2 separate regions of the Homo sapiens genome follow, and region 1 is linked to region 2. Evidence: promoter capture Hi-C in 16 types of primary human blood cells and fetal thymus (Javierre and others, 2016). All regions are on one chromosome and are shown on one strand. The core of a region is centred on a gene start or on the middle of the fragment in contact, and the rest is flanking DNA. Distances in the headings are between cores, read along the strand shown.

Region 1 (3,517 bases), core at 888-3,387, 4.6 Mb before region 2:
ACATGAGTAGGTCCTCTGTACTACAGGAAGCAAAGAAAGAGCATCAGCAGTCCCTTTCTTCCTTTCTACTACCTAAGATTTGAGAGAAAATGAAGAGCTCACAGGAACAGTAGAAAAAAAATAAGTCAGGAAAAAAAAGAAAAAAATATATATCCCAAGAAGGTAAAGGTCAATGGAAATTACAATCAGGAATCTGGCAAATTGAAGGCTAAAAGAAGAAAAAGACTTAAACAAAAGTCTACACTACCAGAGACATGCAACATGTTGGAGACTCCTCCCATAAGAAGCCAAATTCTACAAAGAATCAGCACCATGCATCTAAAACAGCAAAAGAATGTATAGGCAATACATTCTCATGACTGTTACCTTAGGGATACAGAGGCATCAATATGTAAAAACGGAATAGCCTAATCAGTTTCCCAGACCATATCTGAGATATTACTAAAAGTCTATATAAGACCCCCAAGCCTAACAACTTACTAATTTGAGATATTTTACAAGGGAACAAATTATATGGCAAAAACTTATCTAAAATACATCTCTAATGGGGATATAAATGACGTTTTCATTTCATCTTCCAGTTCATCTGGCAGAGAACAATGAATACGAAAACTGCTCAAAGGATACATAGTGTCAAAATCAAGTTGGGTGGTTTGGCAGTATGGGGGCAGGGTGAACCATAATTTCTGTATGGTCCAATCTTTTAAAATCAAGAAATAATGTATTTGATTAAATGAATTTAAATTGAAATTTGAACAAGATACCCCCCCCCAAAAAAAACCACATACAATAACAAGACAAAAGGTGCAACTGATTAAGAAAAACAAAACTCTTAAAAACCCAGTAATACTAAGTAGAAGATATGGAAGAACCATTTTTTAAAAAAGACACAATAGCTATGTTTTAATACTACTACTAATAAAGAAATGCAAGAAAGTGATTATGATAAAAGTTAGGATAACTGTTTCTTAGGAGACAAGGGGTGGTACGTGGAAGGTCATCTGGAGTTATTGGCAAACGTCTTTTTTTTTTTTTTTTTTTTTTTTTTGAGATGGAGTCTCGCTCTGTCACCCAGGCTGGAGTGCAGTGGTGCGATCTTGGCTCACTGCAAGCTCTGCCTCCCGGGTTCACACCATTCTCCTGCCTCAGCCTCCCAAGTAGCTGGGACTACAGGCACACACCACCACGCCTGGCTAATTTTTTTGTATTTTTAGTAGAGACAGGGTTTCACCGTGTTAGCCAGGATGGTCTCAATCTCCTGGCAAAGGTCTATTTTTTAACCTAAGCTGTGATTACAAGTTTGCCTTATGATTCATTCAGCTATATGGTAAGTATGATTTTCACTATATGAATTTTTACAACAAAAATGCTAAAAATTACTGGTGATAAACACAAAATGATACGGTTTGACTGTATCCCCACCCAAATCTCATCTCAAATTGTAAACCCCACGTTGAGGGAGGAACCCAGTGGGAGGTGACTGGATCATAAGGACAGTTTCCCCCATGCTGTTCTCAGGATAGTGAGGGAGTTCTCACAAGGTCTTATGGTTTAAAAGTGGCAGTTTCCCCTGAGCACTCTCTCTCTCCTGCCGCCATGTAAGACATGCTTTGCTTCTGCTTCCCCTTCGCCTTCTGCCATGAAGTTTCCTGAGGCCTCCCCAGCCATGCGAAACCGTGAGTCAATTAAACCTCTTTCCTTTATAAAATACCTAGTCTCAGGTATTTCTTTATAGCAGTGTGATAACGGACTAATACACAAAATGTAAAGTCTTAAATAGGATCTAAATCAAATCTCAAGGGTACTGAAGGAATTTTGTCTGATGGAAAACATGATACAAATTCAACAATGAAAAAATATACCTTGAGAAAAAGAAAGGGAAGAACAGATCAAAGATTTGAGGAAGTAGCACCACCTGTCACCAAGCGAATCTGCAAAAGAAGGTGGGGGGGAGAGGAATGCAATTGTTTTGGAAGATTATACAGACTATCAATGAGAAGGAAGAAAAAAGACACTTTAATACAAATTACAAACTGGTATAAAACCACTCTATGTATATGATGATGACCTTCAGCTATCCAAACATCTACTGGCACATTCTCTAAATACATACCATCTGTTAAAATTCTTGAATATCTTGCTGATAATGTCGCCTGTCAGAAGGTACAGAACAGAAAAGAGAATTAATGCAGGCCAACAAGAAGGAAATGGTAAAATCTTGGGAGAAAAAACCATCTTAAGAGTTCATAACAACAAAGAGAACAAATTTGGAACACAAACATTCAGCCTACGATTGAAGGGGAAAAAAGATGTACAGAAGAGATAGGTATTAATTCCACCAAAAACAGAAAGGAAAAAGAAACCCTATATAAAAACTTCCACTTCTGGCCAAGATGGAATGACAGGCTGGATTTAACCTCCCACCAGAAAAATAATAATAATAATAAACTAAACTAAAAATACTGACCAATCTGTGAAACAATAGTTTTCATGATACTCCCCAGCAAACAATGAAGGATAGTGACTATTGAGAGAAAGGAACCAAATGAAGTGAGCAATACAATTGTCTAGCTTTATGTTGTGTGTTCCCAGCTATGGGAAAGGGAGAGAAAACTCAGAAGGTGTCCAGTGAGGAGAGAGATGTGGGAAATAGGGGATGCCAATACAGCTAGAGTTCACAGGAGAAAGTACCAGAGAAAAGAGAAGAACACACAGGGAACTCAAGAAATCTGCAGTCTTCCTCGAGTATTCAGCAGAGTATGGAACAGTGCATGTTTGTCAGTAAACTCTTCAAGGCGAGAGGGAAACTATTAGAAGAAACTATCTGCAGGCTCACATAACTGTTTGCACCAGTCAGAGTGGGAAATCTCATAATTCACAAAGCACTCCCTTGCCTCATCAGTGAGGCAAAATTAGTTCTATACTAAATGCAGTGCTGATACCATTTAGCAAAGTTTAAAAGCAAGACCCAAAAGTACCCAACTGACTCCAAGCAACTTAAGTGCCTTCTAACACAAAACTCAATAGTATTTTACAGAACACAAAAATATCTAGCACCCAAAAAGAGAATTCAACATATCTGACATCCAGTAAAAAATTTACCACTAAGGCATGCTAAGAGCCAGGAAAATATGACCTATAACAAAAAAAGTAATCAATTACAATTGACCACAAAACAACACAAATAGTAGTGAAGGATATTAAAGTATTATTTTAAGTCTATCCCATATGTTCAAGACACTAAAGTCACAACTCGGCCAGGTGCAGTGGCTCACGCCTGTAATCCCAGCACTCTGGGAGGGTGGTATGGTTTGGATCTGTGTCCCTGCCCAAATTTGATGTTAAATTGTAATCCCCAATGTTGGAGGCAGGGCCTGGTGGGAGGTAATGGAATTATGGGGGCAGTTTCTCAGTTTAGCACCATCTCCCTTGGTGCTGTCATGTCAATAGTGAGTTCTCCTGAGATCTGATTTTGTTTAAAAGTATGTGGCACCTCCCCTCTCTCTATTCCTCCTGC
Region 2 (3,219 bases), core at 533-3,032:
ATTTTTAAGTTTTAAATACATTTAAGAGCTGCCTAGGTAGAAATATTTTTTAAAGTAATACGTGGTTTTGTGGTCATTGATTATTTTAATAAGCCAGTATATCAATTTAATCAGGAACACAATTACTACTTTTTCATGGTTCTCCTTTCACAAATCCGAAAAGTTCTTCCCAGTCCACACGGTTTGGACACATTTTCAAGTGTTAAAACATATTGTTCATACAAAACAAACAAGCTCTTTAGTCACAATTTTAGTTGAAGACTATTTGTTATTTCCTTTAAAATGCACCCAAATTACAACCACTAAGCATTAGAGAACAAAACAGGTATAAGGAAATAAGCGATTTTTTTTTCTTTTTTTTTTTTTTTTTAGATTGAGAACTTATTTGTGAAGAGATGGGAGGCGGGAAAGAATGCAACAATCACCGAAGCGTGCAAGGAAAAATAAAAACAAAGATAACCTGTAAAAATATAACAAATCTTCACTATGCATATTACAACACTTTGGAACCAACAGTACCGATCTCCTGAACAGAACTGCTGTAATAAAGCTTCATATTCACCAGGTCCGTATTAAACATCTCTTCCTTTTGAAGATCCGTCTGCTATGATTAAGATCCAGCAATCCACCCCTTTGGCAGTGATTTTGGATATGAGGACATGAGACTGAAACCCCGAGTTCCTAAGTTGGTTTTACCTGACAAGAGGAACTGACAGTGATGCTGGCGGGAAAACCCTATGAGCGAAGTTTCCTCCATCCTGGCTCCCCTCCCCCTTCTTCCCACCTTCACGAAAATTAATAATCCACAAAAGAACTATGTATCAGCCAAGAGCGCAAAAGTTCATCATTCCACCTGAATGCAGCAAGGCCCACGCGCACCTGCGGGCAGAGAGGAGGCTGCCGGGTCCCCGAGTGGGCAGCAGCTTGGGCCCCAGCGAGCAAGGCGGCCTAGCGCCGCAGGATGGCAAGCGAATAGGCCCGGCGCCCGGTCTCCCGGCCTAGAGCAACTCCCTTCTCCACAATGGTGGGTGGTTTAGCCCCTTCGCGCTACCTGAGACGCAAGAATCGCCTCCTGGTGGGGCAGGGAAGGATGTGGGGGCGCTGAGACAAGCAAACGGGGCCTAGAGACCGCGGCGGGCAACTGCCTAGGAGAAAGAATGGGGGGAGGGGGTTGCAAGAGGGGAGAGGAAAGGGGCTCCGCAGGGATCGGGAGGCCAGCGGACCGGTGGGCTGGAGACTTCGGGGCAGAGAAGCTACCGGCTACGGCCGAAGGGGTGGGGCAAGGCCTGCGTGACGGCCAGGGCCGCGGCTGCGAGAACCCCGAGGTGGGGTGAGGGTCGGATCTCGGCCTCACCTAAAGTCCTTGTCGCTGGATGTCATTTTTTCCAGCAAATTGGAAATGTGGTACGAGGCGCTCGCCATGTTGACGGCCTCGATCCCGCCTGCTGGCGCTGCTGGAGCTGCTGCCCGCTGCCGCTGCCGCCGCCGCCGCCGCCACTGGAGCTCCTCCTCTCGCTCGCGGCGGCTCCCGCTTCCAGGGTCGCAGCGCGACGCCGACGCTGACTAGGGAGGCGCCTCGACGGGCTGCCCCCTCCCTGGCGAGGCGTGGGCCTGTCCCGGGGTAAGCCGAGGCTACAGAGCCAGCCTAACGACGGCGCTGTTCGCGTGAGAACGAGCTCATGGGCGGCGGGGCGTACAGAAGGGCCTCTACGGGGAGCCAGACACTTCCACTCAGGGCCGTCTCGCTCCCACTCGCTCCGCACTCGCTCCCTAGGGCAAAAGGCCAAAGCCCGCCTCCTTCGCTCCGGGGGCGGGGGCGGCAGACGCGGGCGCTACGGAAAGCTAAGGTCAGAGTTCACGGAGGCCTCCCCACGCACGCTGTGGAGAAGAGAGTTAAAAAACAATTCGGTTGGCTGAAGCCTGTGTCAGTTTTCATGTGACCCGCCTTTTGGAGGCATGACAACACAAAAAAAAGGGGCTGTTCTCGCGAGACTCTAAAGCGACGGTTAAGGGACAGGGGACGAGTGGAGCAAGTGGGCCTTAATCTGAAAATAACTTGATTGTTTAATGACATTAAGAGAAAAAGATTACGAGCTTTGAGAAGGAGGAAGCCTGGGAGTAACGACAGTTAAGGAGTTAGCTTGCGGAACCAACATAAGAATTTATAACAGGGAGGTGTCGTTTGGGATCAGACGCGTGGCCTGCATTGCCGTAGCCACCGTGGTGTAATGTTGCCACGTAAAAACCACAAATCCCAGAATTCAGTCGGGTGATACACTGGCTCAGAATGTGATTGGCTGCGGGAACTAGTAGCTTCCTCATTGGCTCCCGTGGAAGGAGTGAATGCTGGGATTTGCAGTCTGATGGGGGAGCCGTGCTGGGTAAAAACCTTAGAATCGTCGCGCACTCCGTTTCTGCCGCGGATTCTTATATTCTCCAATACAGGCTTTTTCTGTTATGCAGTATTTGCAGAGCAGGCTGCTGCAGTTTGGCCAGGCGCATTGCGGATCAGTTGGTGTTCTTGCCAGAGGCCTAGCAGCAGCTTCCTAGCGCTACTACTTGCACCTCCCAAGGCAGCTGAGCCTCCCCACTTCTCTGGCCAGACACACTCCTACCGTGCATCGTAGAACCACCTCTCTGACGCCAGCAGGACCTTAGTAAGAGTAATGGGTATGCGACAGATGGCTGTAGTCAGGCCCTACTGATTTCAAAATAGCTAAAAGACTATCTCTGTAGTTAGCTTTTGTGGCCTTGATGGACCTGCAGCTGTGTATTGCTCCCTCAGACGTACAAATTCGTGGAGATGAGTTATGAAAGTATTTAGTATCCAAGTTTTTCATCTGCTTAATATTTGGGATTTTAAACACAAGTTTTGCCAGCTAGGGGTCAACATCCCTGAAAGTGTTAGGGATGGAGCTAGCTGACAGGCCTTTCTAAAAGAACAGAGAGCCTGGTGAAGAGATGAAAAATCAATCTCACTTGATACTCCTGTTAAAAACAACAACAAACCTTTAAATAGCTCTCTACTAACACATAACTCAAATCCGATCAAATCTACCTGACCTTTACCATTGTTTTCTGTATTCATCAACTATTACTGAGTACTTCAAAGTCAGGCAATAGGAGTTAATAAAACAGATGAAACTTGGTTTAGCCTCATAATATGTGTTTAAATTTCACACATACCTCTGATCTGCTCTCATGTATCCTTCTACTTGA

The links. The method cuts DNA at HindIII sites, captures the fragments that hold promoters and counts their contacts. A CHiCAGO score of 5 or more calls a contact.
Region 1: a contact is called between a fragment that was not itself captured here and the fragment with the promoter of CAND1 in region 2, in 1 of 17 cell types (neutrophils). The highest score is 5.3, in neutrophils.

The regions. Positions count from the first base shown.
Region 1 is chr12:71,853,199-71,856,715 of GRCh38, reverse strand. All of the region lies in intron 1 of TBC1D15 (TBC1 domain family member 15), which reads right to left. Among named protein-coding and RNA genes, the nearest start is that of TBC1D15, 15 kb to the right of the region's middle. The HindIII fragment of the contact is 4,970 bases long and covers 1-3,517 here.
Region 2 is chr12:67,267,921-67,271,139 of GRCh38, reverse strand. It overlaps CAND1 (cullin associated and neddylation dissociated 1), which reads right to left and starts at 1,782. Exons shown (of 15, transcript NM_018448.5): 1 at 1,355-1,782. The coding sequence starts at 1,422. RefSeq lists enhancers at 1,016-1,667, 1,947-2,206, 2,347-2,646. The HindIII fragment of the contact is 8,089 bases long and covers 553-3,219 here.